Linked DNA regions of Homo sapiens: region 1 is linked to region 2. Evidence: promoter capture Hi-C in 16 types of primary human blood cells and fetal thymus (Javierre and others, 2016). All regions are on one chromosome and are shown on one strand. The core of a region is centred on a gene start or on the middle of the fragment in contact, and the rest is flanking DNA. Distances in the headings are between cores, read along the strand shown. Region 1 overlaps LOC105369673 (a long non-coding RNA gene). Region 2 holds the start of STRAP (serine/threonine kinase receptor associated protein).

The links. Contacts are between HindIII fragments. The CHiCAGO score rates a contact against its expected background, and 5 or more counts as called.
Region 1: a fragment that was not itself captured here is called in contact with the fragment with the promoter of STRAP in region 2 in 9 of 17 cell types (non-activated CD4 T cells, naive CD4 T cells, total CD4 T cells and 6 more); the score reaches 8.2 in non-activated CD4 T cells.

What each region holds. Positions count from the first base shown.
Region 1 is chr12:15,280,658-15,287,581 of GRCh38, reverse strand. The region is part of intron 2 of LOC105369673 (a long non-coding RNA gene); the gene reads left to right. Among named protein-coding and RNA genes, the nearest start is that of PTPRO, 38 kb to the left of the region's middle. The HindIII fragment of the contact is 604 bases long and covers 5,348-5,951 here.
Region 2 is chr12:15,877,443-15,885,090 of GRCh38, reverse strand. It overlaps STRAP (serine/threonine kinase receptor associated protein), which reads right to left and starts at 2,704. Exons shown (of 10, transcript NM_007178.4): 1 at 2,272-2,704; 2 at 1,415-1,550. The coding sequence starts at 2,383. LOC102724146 (a long non-coding RNA gene) reads left to right here and starts at 2,793. Exons shown (of 6, transcript XR_007063230.1): 1 at 2,793-3,311; 2 at 3,892-3,984. RefSeq lists enhancers at 2,627-2,746, 3,057-3,286 and a silencer at 5,402-5,696. The HindIII fragment of the contact is 32,342 bases long and covers 1-7,648 here.

The DNA.
Region 1 (6,924 bases), core at 4,400-6,899, 600 kb after region 2:
CTCTTCCCCACCATTATGACAATCAAAATGTCTATAGACATTACTAAATGTCCCCTGAAAGCAAGTGGGCAAAATTACCCAAGCCGAGAATCACTGATTTAGGTGCATCTCATGAATGTTGGTATATTGTGTTTTCATTTATGTTTAGCTCAAAATACTTTATAATTTCTGCCTTTGATTTTTTTCTTGATCCATGGGCTTATTTACAAACATTTGAGTACTTTTCCAGAGATCTTCCTGTTCTGTTATTAGTTTTTTTATTTAAGTCATTGTGCCCAGAGAAAGTATTTTTTCTGACCTAAATCTTTTTAACTTTATCAAAGGTTAGGCCCAAAATATGGTCTATTGTAGTAAATATTCCTTGTGCACTTGAAAATAAAGTGTATTCTGTTGCTGTTAGGTGGAATATCATATAGACGTCAAATAGGTCAAGTTGGTTGGTAGTGTTATTCAAGTCTTCTATATACTTATGTTGTCTATAGTTCTAGTAGCTATTGAGAAAGTGGTGTTGACGTCTCAAACAATAATTATAGATATGTCTATTTCTCCTAACAATTTTATCAATCTTTTTTCATGTATACAAAGCTCTGTTATTAGGGATACAAAAACTTAGGATTGTTATGTTCTCTGGGTAGATTGAGCTTTTTACAATTGTGAAATGACTCTATCCATGTTAATATTTGCTCTGAAACATATTCTGCCTGATACTAGCATAGCCATGCCCATCTCTTTGGATTAGTGTACGCATGGTATATCTTTTCCTATCCTTTTACTTTTAACCTACTCTGTCTTTATTTTTGAAGTGTTTCTCACAGAAAACATACAGATAGGTTTTGCTTTTTTTTTTATCAAACCTGTCAATCTTCACATTTTAATGGGTATTTACATAAATCCAATTTAATAAGATTATTAATATGGTTGGGTTTAAATGTATGATCTTATTTTATCTTTGGTTTATCTGTTCTTTGTTTCCATTTTATCCCTTTCTTATCTTCCTTTGGATAAATCATAAATTTCTATAATTTGAGTTTATCTACTTTTTGACTTATTAGCTATAATTCTTTTTGTATTACTTTACTGGTTGGTTTAAGGTTTATAGTATACATCTTTATCTTATCACAGTCCTTTTTTCTGATAACATCATACTACTTCATGTATAGTATAAGAAACTTATAGTAGCAGTATACTTTCATTTTTCTTTTCCCATCCTTGTGTTACATATTTTATTTGTACATATTTTATTACCAGTACATTGTAATTATTTTTGTTTAAATAGTCTATTACTCTTTAAGGACATGTAAATAATAAGGAAACAATCTTATAGATTTCCCTGCATAGGTACCATTTCCAGTGCTCTTCGTATCTTTGTGTAGACCCACATTTCCATCTGCTGTAATTTTAATTCTTCCTAAAGGACTTTCTTGAATATTTATTAAAGTTTAAGTAGTTGTAGATAAATTCTTTAAATTTTTATGTGTTAAAAAGTCTTTATTTTGTCTTCATTTTCAAATATATTTTATCTGGGTATAAAATTTGGCTGGTAGTATTTTTCTTTCAGTACTTTAAAGATTTCACTCCATTTATTTCTCACTTAATTGTTTCTAATGAGAAATCTACCATTATGCTGATTCTTGTTGTTTTGTACCTAACATGTCTCACTTCTCAGGCTGCTTTTAGAATTTTCTATTTATCATTGGTTTTGAGCAGTTTGCACATGATGTATTTTGGTGTGATTTTCTTCATATCTCTCAACATATACTTAGTATTTATTGAGATTATTGGATCCGTGCATTTATATTATATATTTCTTCAGATTTGGAAGAAAAACTTATCCATATTTCATCTTATATTTCTTCTCCTCCCTCCCATCTCCTTTGAGGACTCCAATTACATGACTATTAGGCTTCTTGAAATTGTTCCACAGAGCAGTGATGCTTTTTTCCTTTTCTAATCTGTTTCATTTCAGGAAGTTTCTATTACTATGTCTTTAAATTCAGTAATATTTTTTCAGCAATATCTAATCTGTTGTTTCTCCTATCTAGTTTAGTTTTCACTATGGGTATTATTGCTTCCATTTCCAAGGACTTTACTTGGGTCTTTTAAAAAGTATCTTTCATGTTTCTACTTAACTTTTCAACATATGGAATACAGTTATAATAAATGTTAGATGTTGTCTGCTAACTAAAACTTCTGACGGTTCTGGATCAGCTTCACTAAATTGATTTTTGTCTTTTGCATGGATTGCAACCTGCTTCTTTAGGTGTTAAGTAATTTTTGAATGGGCATCAGAAATGATAAACTTTACATTATTGGGTAGTGTATATTTTGTGTTGTGACATATATTCTTGAATTTAGTTCTGTGATACAGTTAAGTTAGTGCAAAACAGCTCATCCTGTTGAGACAGTTTTTGATTTGGCAGGTGGAACCTGAGCACACTAATTATTCACCTTCCTGAGGCAAGACTCTTTTTGAGTCCTCTAACAAATGCACTGGTATTTATGAAGTTTTCCAGGCTGGCTGGTGGAAACTAGCACTGTTCCCAGTCCTGTATGAGCACTGGCTGTTGTTCTCTCTAATCCTTTCAGGTGGTTCTTCCCTGGAACTGGGTAATTTCCTCACATACATGCACTAATGAGCATTCTACTTATCGCTTGAGGATGTATCCTCTGCAGGTCTTTGGGGTCCTCTCACTTTGTAGCTTTCTCTTTTCTGCTACTCTGCTTTGCAAAGTCTAGCCACCTTGGATTTTATGGACTCTCAGCTTATTCCCTCAATTCAGGGAGTTCACTTGACTCTGTCCATGTTTCCCCTCCTTAAGTTGCTGCCTGGAATTTCTCTGAAGGCAGTAAGCTGGAATCCACTGAGGCTTATCTTATTTGTTTCCCATTTGTCATGGATCACTGTTTTTTGTTGCCTGATGTCCAATGTCATGAAAATCTTGGTTTTATTTATTTTCTCTGGTTTTTCCCCCCATTTCAAGTAGGATGGTAAATCTGTTTTCCATTAGTCCATTTTTGGAAGAAGTGGAAGTTTCTCATTTCTGTTCATTTTAGAAATTGATTGTAATGGCTATCATATCTTTTAAAATATCCTCAAATATTTAGAGAACTAAATAAATGAAGTACAGAGTTGTCTATGCTTATTGTATTATGATACTGATTTTTATATTCCACCCATCAATTACACAAAGGTTTTCGTTAAAATTCAGTTATTGTATTTCTATTTTCCCTGATGTTGATCACTCTTGAAAATAAGTAGTAATATGTTGTATTTCTATTTTTAAAAATATTCAAAATCCATCAAAACTATTTGGGATATTTTTGATATAGGTTAAATAATAAATTTATGGCTGTATTTTTAAGCATGCAGATATGAGAGTTTTCGTAAGTGACATGATTTTCAGCAACAAAATCACATAGTGATCCAAACATTAGCTGATAGCAGTTCTCAAATATATTTTGCATGACAAGTCCCTTTAAAAACAGGTAGGTTCTGATTTGCATTTCTCTGATGGCCAGTGATGATGAGCATTTTTTCATGTGTTTTTTGGCTGCATAAATGTCTTCTTTTGAGAAGTGTCTGTTCATGTCCTTCACCCACTTTTTGATGGGGTTGTTTGTTTTTTTCTTGTAAATTTGTTTGAGTTCATTGTAGATTCTGGATATTAGCCCTTTGTCAGATGAGTAGGTTGCGAAAATTTTCTCCCAATTTGCAGGTTGCCTGTTCACTCTGATGGTAGTTTCTTTTGCTGTGCAGAAGCTCTTTAGTTTAATTAGATCCCATTTGTCAGTTTTGTCTTTTGTTGCCATTGCTTTTGGTGTTTTGGACATGAAGTCCTTGCCCATGCCTATGTCCTGAATGGTAATGCCTAGGTTTTCTTCTAGGGTTTTTATGGTTTTAGGTCTAACGTTTAAATCTTTAATCCATCTTGAATTGATTTTTGTATAAGGTGTAAGGAAGGGATCCAGTTTCAGCTTTCTACATACCATCTCACACCAGTTAGAATGGCAATCATTAAAAAAGTCAGGAAACAACAGGTGCTGGAGAGGATGTGGAGAAATAGGAACACTTTTACACTGTTGGTGGGACTGTAAACTAGTTCAACCATTGTGGAAGTCAGTGTGGCGATTCCTCAGGGATCTAGAACTAGAAATACCATTTGACCCAGCCATCCCATTACTGGGTATATACCCAAATGACTATAAATCATGCTGCTATAAAGACACATGCACACGTATGTTTGTTGCGGCATTATTCACAATAGCAAAGACTTGGAACCAACCCAGATGTCCAACAATGATAGACTGGATTAAGAAAATGTGGCACATATACACCATGGAATACTATGCAGCCATAAAAAATGATGAGTTCATGTCCTTTGTAGGGACATGGATGAAATTGGAAATCATCGTTCTCAGTAAACTATCGCAAGAACAAAAAACCAAACACTGCATATTCTCACTCATAGGTGGGAATTGAACAATGAGATCACATGGACACAGGAAGGGGAATATCACACTCTGGGGACTGTGGTGGGGTGGGGGGAGGGGGGAGGGATAGCATTGGGAGATATACCTAATGCTAGATGACGAGTTAGTGGGTGCAGCGCACCAGCATGGCACATGTATACATATGTAACTAACCTGCACAATGTGCACATGTACCCTAAAACTTAAAGTATAATAAAAAAAAAACAAAAAAAAAACAGGTAGGTTCTCACTCTTTGTTAAAAAAAACTCACCTTTACCTTGAAGGAATAGATTATATATTTATTTTGAGAAATATATCTTCTGGGTAGCACATTACTGAAAATCACTAGTTCTCCCTGAACAGGTCAGCAAATTGGGCTTAATGCAGCTTGAAACATCACTGGAAAAAAATTGTAAATGTTTGTGTGCGTTCTCTGGATGCTCAGATCCCAAACGTCTCACTAATCATGATGGCTCCACATTATCATTTGCAAACATTTCAAAGCAGCAAACACACCTAGCATGAGATTCAAACAGCCTGGATAATTTCAAATCATTTTGGCTTACTTCCTGTCTTATCTAATTACATCCTCATTGTTTTCAACCTTTTGATGTGCTTATAAAGAGATCAAATTAGAAATGGAAGTTTCTGCCAATTTTTCTTTGTCTGTGAATTATTGGTATTATGTTTAGTCCATGTTTTTTGCAAGATGGCATGAAGTCTATGGCATGAAGCCAGCACTGACCCCTCCTCTATACTTAGAATTTCTGCCTTTCTCCCAGCATGCCTTGGTGACCATATGTGACACTTGCTTCTTTTCCATATGAATACATTAGGACACCAGTATAAATCCATATATGATGTGTTAGAAAAGCTTACTTTCTTATTTTTTAAATTTAAAATATATAATTAAAAGTTCTTATATTTTGGTCCACATTCCACCATGGAGAGAGGATTGGCTTGGCTTTAAGGTATAATGTCTCTTGTTGATACACTCAGCTAAATTAGAGAGCTACAAGAAAGGACAGAATTAGACTCCTAAGGCTATAGCTATTGAGTAATGGAAGCAGACAGATCACTCAGGCAACTACTGTCACAATAACGAGCCTTTAAGAAGAAAACCTTCTGAGAATGAAGGGACATATAGGGATTGCACTTAAAAAAATTAAACTCATGTAACTACTACTGGAATATATAACCAAATCTCTTGTAAAAGAAAACTCCTTGCCAGTTAAAGAATAAGACCAAATTGATGTACTTTCCTGCATCAGAGAAATCCTATACCCAGTACCAGGAAATTCTATGCACAGATATATTAATCGATACATTAATGGAGCTGAAGTTCTGCTGTCAGCAGATCTTGTCATTCAATGAAGCATGTCCAGGTGGATAAAAACATGAAGAATTACTTTCTAAAGAACAGGTTTTAGTTTTGGAAAGAATTTTATGACAGTTAAGTAGGTTTTTTTAATACCAAGCTTGCACTCATTTCCCTGATTTAGAGGTGCAATGTTTCTGTAGTGTCTAATTTTAAACTTGTCCTGTCAGGTTTGAAATGTATGATTTTGGCAACCTTTGCAACTGTGCAAAGCATGTATTTCAAGATACTGTGGTCTTTAGGCTTCTACTTCCTCAGTACTAGATTGTTCCCAAAAGAATGTATGAAGGATGAATGGATCAGAAAAGACATTACGCTGGAGATGAGAATCAAAATCCTGACTCTAAAGTATTTTGTTGACAGTTGGCTTTTTACCTTCCACATTGAAATACTCTTTGTGAGGGTCATGCGGTTTAACTCATTGCTACAACTTGGAGGAAAATGTGCAATGTCAAGCATTCCTGTATGGTCCAAAACCTGCCATAATGGCTGCCAATGGCTCTTCCTTTTCTGAAAGGAGTATCTGAGTTTCATGATGTCAGATAATCATCCTTGCAATAGGAAATTCAAGTTTCTGGAAGCTCCTCTTTCCTTGCAAGTCACTGTCAATTCAATCATTGAGTAAAGTGTTCCTGTGTGACAGGAGCAGATTAGCAGATGATCCCAGAAAAATCTAAGCACTGAAGATAGAATGCTAAGGATTTTTTAATTATTTCTTTATTTTAAAAAATTGATACTTCTTTCCTCTTTTTACGTCATGTTTCACTCATCCCCCTTAGAACTATTGGCAAGATCATGGGCTAAGAGAAAATTTAAAAGTATTTATTGAATTTAGAAACATCAGCAAGAATTTATTCTACCTTCAATATGAGATAGCTCTGTAGCAGTACTATAAAGTAGAATAACAGATTTTACAAACCATGCTTTTCATTTTATGATGTTTTTAAAGATGTGGTTCATGTACATATAATTCATGGTGAAAGATGGAATAATTTTAAGTTATACATAGATTAATGCCCATATGTAAATGTATATACACACATTATTTCACTGTGTAATTGGTAAATCTCATTAG
Region 2 (7,648 bases), core at 1,455-3,954:
GTGTCAAATTCCTAAGTTACAAATACCAAGTAGGAACTGGAGATAACAAGATTTATAAAATATGATACATTCCCAAAAAGGCAACGAGGGCCACTGCAAGTCAGTTTAATAACATAATTAACCGCCAAAAGTCAGAACAGGTAAGGTATATTCTGGCAACAATAAGATTAGTATAATTAGATTGTAGGTTTATGGTGTGCAATGGCAGAGGATGATGCTGATGAACTAGGATGAAGCAAACTGTAAAGGGCCAACAATTGAAATGTGTCCTTTAGGTCAGCAATTCTATGACTGCACATCAGGAAAGAAAAGGAAGAAAGAAAAATAAAAAAACACCAATAATCAGTATGACCAGTACTCCATCCCCAGACCAATCAAACCAGAATTTCTGTACCAGGCACAGTAGTTCACCCCCGTAACCCCAGCTCTTTGAGAGGCTGAGGCATGGAGGCCAAGAGTTTAAGACAGCCTGGACAACATAGCTAGATACTGTCTGTATAGTAAAAAGTATTAAAAAATATTTTTAAATGTAGTAAAAAGTATAAAATATAAATATATAGTAAAAAAGTAAAAAAAAAAAAAAGTTTTAAAAATCCGAATTTCTGGGACTCATACCATTTGAATATTTGAAAAGCTCTCCAGATATTCTAATGTACATCAAAGGTCATGAACTACTAAAATGGCAAAGGGAAGACAGGAAGATCATTAGTAGAGAAGTGACATGATCAAGTATGTTTTTAGGAAGACAACTGGCAACAATATGGAAAATGAATAGGAGGAAAAGAAACTACTGAAAGTTAAAAATGATCCTGAACTAAGGCAGCCACAGTTACTACATGAAGGAACATTGGAGTCAGGAGACATCCCGCTGGCAGAATCAAAAAAGATGATGATAATCTAGATATAAGGGAAAATCAAGAATGCTTTAGATTTCAACCTTTAAAAACTTAGGAAATGACGAGCAGCTGAGTTTTGTTTTTTTGTTGTTTTTTTGTTTGTTTGTTTTTGACACAATGAGTTTTAATGATGCCTAAAGCCAGTTAACAAAAACCGGGATTGAAATAAAAACCTAGGGCCATCAATGTAGGATATCACTAAGGAGTACACACAGAGCAGCATTCGTAAAGGAGATCAACATTCATTATCTGGTGCGTTTGTTAATGCAGATTCCTGAGTCTCAATCAAAATATACGGAATAAGTCATTTAGGCCTCTGAAAATTTTGAGAACCACTGAAGACAAAGAAGCACACAGGACCACGATGGACCACGATGGAATTTTGGTGGGATCAAACATGCGTTCTGTATGGCAGCCAGTGAGTCAGAATTTTATGAATATCTGACACTGAAGTTTTTGATTATTTCAGGACACAAGCTACAGAGAACACCAAAGTTAGCCATCTTGGCTACACTTACGCTGTGAAATCTGCAGCTGCTGTAGCTGCTTTGGTGGCATCCTTATTCAGTGTTGCACCCCAAACAGCACCTTTATGACCCAAAAATGTTCCAATCCAGTCTCCTGTATCTCCCTGGCGTAGCATAGGTTTACCATCTAGAAAATATTTTTTAAAACATGTAATTTATAAGTTCAGATTACTTAAAGTCTAAGATTCAAATGTAAATATACAATGATGTTCAATGACAAAGTGGAAAAATTGTTTCAGCTATTTAACTACCACCACCCACTGAAGGCACTAAGGAATGTGCAGTAATAAATTAACTGAAGAGCTGAACAGATCATTCTCTCTGAAAAGCATCTGTAATTGGCTGGGAATACTGATCTGCGTCAAAACAATCTAGATTTTAGTCTTATTTTGGACAGACATCTTAGCCTGAATCTCAGTTTCCCATTTGAAAAATGAGGCTAATACCACAAAGGAATATCCAGTGAGACAAGAGCGAACGTCTTTGTAAGGTATTGCACGGCCTGGCCTAATTTCTCCTTTCCCCAAATCCTTGAAAGCTATTTACCGTGTTGTCCCGAGAGTCTAGGCAAATGCTGACCAGCTCCTTCAAAAATAGCAATAAAAATAAAATAAGGAGAGAGGTCTTAGTTGGAGGTAATAGTTTCTACAAAAGCGTCCTCTCGGCTCCAGCTGCGGATTCCCTAACACACTCCTTTCTCCACCGGACCAGTGTTGGCTCTCATCTCAGATGTTAATATCGCCCCCTCCCCCCTCACCACACCACCGCTTCGGCACTGGAGCGTGCGGGTCCCGATCCCTTTCAGCCCAGTCCCAGCCGTCGAGGACCAGGATTGCGGCCTTGCTCACCTTTGCAAGCGCTGATTAAGAAATACCCATAAGGCGTGATGCCACTGAAGGCCAAATCAACCACGGGTCGCGTGTGGCCAGAGCAGGTGAGCGGCGTCTGTCTCATTGCCATGGCGGCGGCGAAGCCAGCGACCGGACTGGCGAGCTGAGGGTCGTCGTTGTCTTTTCTCTCTTCTGCTGCAGTGCCTCGGGCTGCTCCAGGCCCCCGCCCTGACACTAGGGCTGGGCTGGGCAACAGGAAAAGAAGGGCAATCCGGTGGCACCGAGGTTAGGGAGGGGTGAGGGAGGGGTCAGGGAGTCTGCGACCAGCAAGCAACAGTCGACGAGGGAGGGAAAGGGAGGGAGGGAGGAAAGTAGGGGATGGGGAGAAGCGGAGAACCGGGCCAGCCACGATTCACAGCGTCCACACCGGCATCGGCAGGAAGTGACGACGTAAATGACGCAGAGCACCCGCCGGAAATGACGATTGGCGGGAGGGCGGGCTCGCCGGGTAGAAGTGACTTGAAGAAAGAGCGAGAAGTATAGAAGGGCGCAGGCGCTAGTTCAGTGCTCGTGAGGTAACTGGCGCTGGCCCACGCCGACTAAGGGAGACGCTCTAGGCACCGGGATGGGGTCCCTGTCCCCGAGCTCTAGCGGGTCAGAACGCCTTCCTGGTCCGCGGCCGAGTTGAAAGTTGTTCCCACTCCCATAAGTCCAAGGACCAGCGTCAGCTGTGTACCTGCCGAGCAGCCCTACTGAGGACTGTGCTCGGCCTCTGAATATCTAGACGGACACGAGCCATACCCAGTGACGGCCCAAACCAGCGAACGCTGTCTGGCAACGTTTTTTGCAATTTGTCTTATTTAAAAACCATATACGGGCTTGGAGTGGTGGTGCCTGTGGTCCCACCTACTTGGAAGGCTGAGGTGGGAGGATAACTCGAGCCCGAGAGGTCGACACCGCAGTAAGCGGTGCTCGCGCCACCGCACTCCAGCCTGGGCAACAGAGCGAGACCATGTATTAAAAAAAAAAAAAAAATCCCCAGTCATTTCTTCCGCTGTGTAAGTTTTCCTATGTTGCTAATGTTTTAGGAGTGGATACTATATAGTTTTAAATGCGATTAAATTCAAGTTACTTTTTCCTTGGTGGACTTCGGAGAACTCTAGAGTCGTAGATCCCCAATTTTTTTGATGAAATACTCTCATCCGTAAAGTGAGCCTTCACTCATTTTATAAGCGAATGAATGCTGAATTCTATCAAAAACTTTTACACCTTTTGATATGATGTATATATGAGTGATGATTTGCAAATTACATAGATGTGCATTATAATACATGGACAAAAATAGAAATATTAAAATAATATTTAAATATAAACAAACTCTGATATTGTCTGCAGCAGGCAGCCCACTGTGGCTCTGTGAAACCACCAGAGCTGTTAATTGTTGATACTGTTTCCTAACCAGGAGAGGGCTTTTCTCTGGGCAAGTTGTATCTTTATTGATAGAATGTAAACCCAATACAACAGAGATTTTTGTGTTTTCTTTGCTACTTTATCCCCAAGGTCAAAACGTCTGGGCACATAGCAATAAATATGTAATCAACATAAATGTCTGTGAATGTTTTCTTCATCTTTTTGCAGCAAACACCGTCTACAAGATTCGAGTCAAACAACGTGAGAACTTGAAATACGTCTCCATTCTTTTTCCTTAGTACTCTCGTTCATTCACTTACGGTAAAGCACTTACTATATATGTTTTTCATTTTATCTTGTTCGACTCCTCCTTTGTGCCATCCTCTCCCTTTTGTCTCACACATACGCACCACTCACACATTTATGAACTCCTTAATGGCAATGGTTATGGCTTTGTCATTTGTACTCTAGTGCCAGAAAAGTGAATGGCATTTAGTGAATACTCAGCATGACTGTTTACTGATTAAATAGATTGTTGCATTACTGATGGAGGTAAATAAAAGACCCACTCAAAATGACACAACTGGTCAGATACTGATACATGTTCATTTATTGCTCATTGTGTGTAGATAAGAATATAATTGGTAAGTTATGGTACATACTTGGCTCTAAAGAATGTATTATTTCCTGCTCATTTGGATTCTGAGTTCTAAGAGTATTGTGTATTATGACCAATTGGGTAGGCTTCAAGGTCAATTTAATATTAGAAGACAGGTTAATGTAATTGATATAATTAACAATATTAAAAGATTAAAGAAAATCATATCAAAAGATGTGTAAGAAGTTTTTGATAGAATTCAGCATTCTTTCACTTATAAGAATTCTGAGACACTAGAAATAGAAGGGACTTTTTTAACCTCATAGAATATCTGAAACCCCACACCTAATGGTGAAATACAGAAAGCATTCTGTATTAGATTAGGTACGAGACAGATGATTGCTACTGCCTCTTCAATACAGCATCGTACTAGATGTTCAGGTAACTTAAAAATGCATAAATCTTCCAAAGAAAGTTGTAAATCTGTGATTAGAAATTGTTTTAGAGGTTATATACAAAGAAAAGAGGCAAGGTGTGGTGGCTCATGCCTGTAATTCCAGTTCCCAGTACTTTGGGTGGCTGAGATGGGAGGATCACTCCAGCCCAGGAGTTCAAGACCAGTCTGGGCAACAAAGTGAGACCCAGGCTCTACAAAAAAATAAAAAAATTAGCCAGGCATGGTGGTACACTACTGTGATCCCAGCTACACGGGACACTGAGGCAGGAGGATCGCTTGAGCCCAGAAGTTCATGGCTGCAATAAGCCCAATTTCTGCCACTGCACTGCAGCCTGGACAATGAGGTAAGACCATGTCTCAAAAGAAAAAAATAAAAATAAAAATTATTGGAATTAATGAGAGAATTTAGAAAGGTTACTGAAGTTGTTTTTTTCTTTTTTTAGAAGAGATGAAGTCTCACTATGTTACCCAGGCTGGGTGCGATGCCTAGGTTACTGGGTTTTGTTGTTGTTGTTGTTGTTGTTTTAAGTGTAATGAAGAAATCACATTTCTATACATTAGCAACAACAAAAAATGTAATTTTAAAATATGCCATGTTAAATAGCATCAAGAATTATAAAGTACATAGGAATAAAAAAACAAAGTGTACTCCCCAGCAGAAAAAAAACTGGCACGCTGAAATGTAGAAGTTGAGAGCAGTGTAATGAAGGGATTAGTTACAGAAGTGTGGCCAGGATCAAAAGTAAACAACAAGGAGAAAATAGGGCACTAACCATAGATCTGAATGAGAAACTGAAAGGGAGCAGTTATCTGAACCTGATTTATTTGAGAAAGGTACGGTTGCAGGAGAAGGCTCTGGGCGAGAGCTGGAATAATCAGTAGAAGAACACAACTGCTCCCAATTATCATCAGCACAGCCATGGGGAAGAAGTGGGGAAATGAATATCTACTTTTAGATCTCCCATGCTTCCCATTGGTCAAACCCAGCCAGAGCCCAGAAGACAAGGGAGCCCTTTAATGGGGTCCATAAATGTCAACCTTCTAGGACTTAAACCATAGTACAAAAAGGAGAAAAGGGGATCTCGTTAAATAAAGGAATACCCAACATGATGTTCAATATTATTTAATGCCTCTCAGCAAAATGTATCGTTCTCTATTAAAGGCATTAAATAATATTAAAATAAATGGAAAATGGATATATTGTGTTTGTGGGTTGGCAGGTTCAATTTTGGGAAAATATCAGTGCTCTCCTGTTATGGACTGAATTGGGTTCCCCTCCTCCAAATTCCTATGTTAAAGTCCTAATCCTCACTATCTCAGAATGTGACTGTATTTGGATAAGTAAGGTAAAATTAGGTCATATGGGTGGGCCTTAATCCAATGCAACAGTTATCTTTATTGAGAAGAGGAGATGAGGACACAGACAACACAAAGGAATGACCAGATGAGGACAGAGTGAGAAGGTGGCCATCTGCAAGTCATGGGGAAAGGCCTCAGAGAAGAAAGGAAATTTACAGACCTTAGTCTTGGACTTCTAGCCTCTAGAACTGTGAGAAAATAAATTTCCATTGTTTAAGCCACCAACATCTGTTATGGCAGACCTAGAAAACAAATACATCTCCAAAATGATTTACAGTTTCAATACAATTGCAAATAAAAGTTCCAGTTTTTGGGGGGGAGGGGCAATGACGTTTTTAAAATTATTATTTTTATTTTTCCATAAGTTATTGGGGTACAGTTAGTATTTGGTTACATGAGTAAGTTCTTTAGTGGTGATTTGTGAGACTTTGGTGCACATATCACCTAAGCAGTATACACTGCACCATATGTGTAGTCTTTTAATCCCTCGTCCCCCCTCCCACTCCTCCCTCCAAGTCCCCAAAGTCCATTGTATCATTCTTATGCCTTTGCGTCCTCATAGCTTAGCTCTCACTTATCAGTGAGAACATACGATGTTTCGTTTTCCATTCCTGAGTTACTTCACTTAGAATAATAGTCTCCGATCTCATCCAGGTCACTGCAAATGCTGTTAATTTATTTCTTTTATGGCTGTATAGTATTCCATTGTATATAAATATACCACAGTTTCTTCATCCACTCGTTGATCGATGGGCATTTCGGTTGGTTTCACTGTTTTGCAATTGTGCTGCTATGAACATGCATGTGCAAGTATCTTTTTCGATTAATAACTTCTTTACCCCTGGGTAGATACCCAGTAGTGGGATTACTGGATCCAATGGTAGTTCTACTTTTAGTTCTTTAAGGAATCTCCACACTGTTTTCCATAGTGGTTGTACTAGTTTACATTCCCACCAGTAGTGTAGAAGTACTCCCTGTTCACTGCATCCATGCCAACATATACTGTTTTTTGATATTTTGATTATGGCCATTCTTGCAGGAGTAAGGTGGTATCGAATTGTAGTTTTGATTTTCATTTCTGTGATCATTAGTGGTGTTGAGCATTTTTTCATATGTTGGCCATTTGTATATCTTCTTTTGAGAATTGTCTATTCATATCATTAGTCTGCATTTTGATGGGATTGTTTTTTTCTTACTGATTTGTTTGAATTCATTGTAGACTCTGAATATTAGTCCTTTGTCACATGTATAGATTGTGAAGATTTTCTTTCACTCTGTGGGTTGTCTGTTTACTCTGCTGACTGTTCTTTTGCCGTGCAAAAGCTCTTTAGTTTAATTAGGTCCCAGCTATTTATATTTGTTTTTATTGAATTTGCTTTTGGGTCCCTTTGTCCCTTGTATGCCAGTTTTGCTGAGAGTTTTAATCATAAAGGGATGCTAGATTTTATCAAATGCTATTTCTGCATCTATTGAGATGACCATGTGGTTTTTGTTTTTAATCCTGTTTATGTGGTGTATCACATATTTGTCTGAAAATGACTGTATCTTTCCTTCGTATATGATGCTTATTT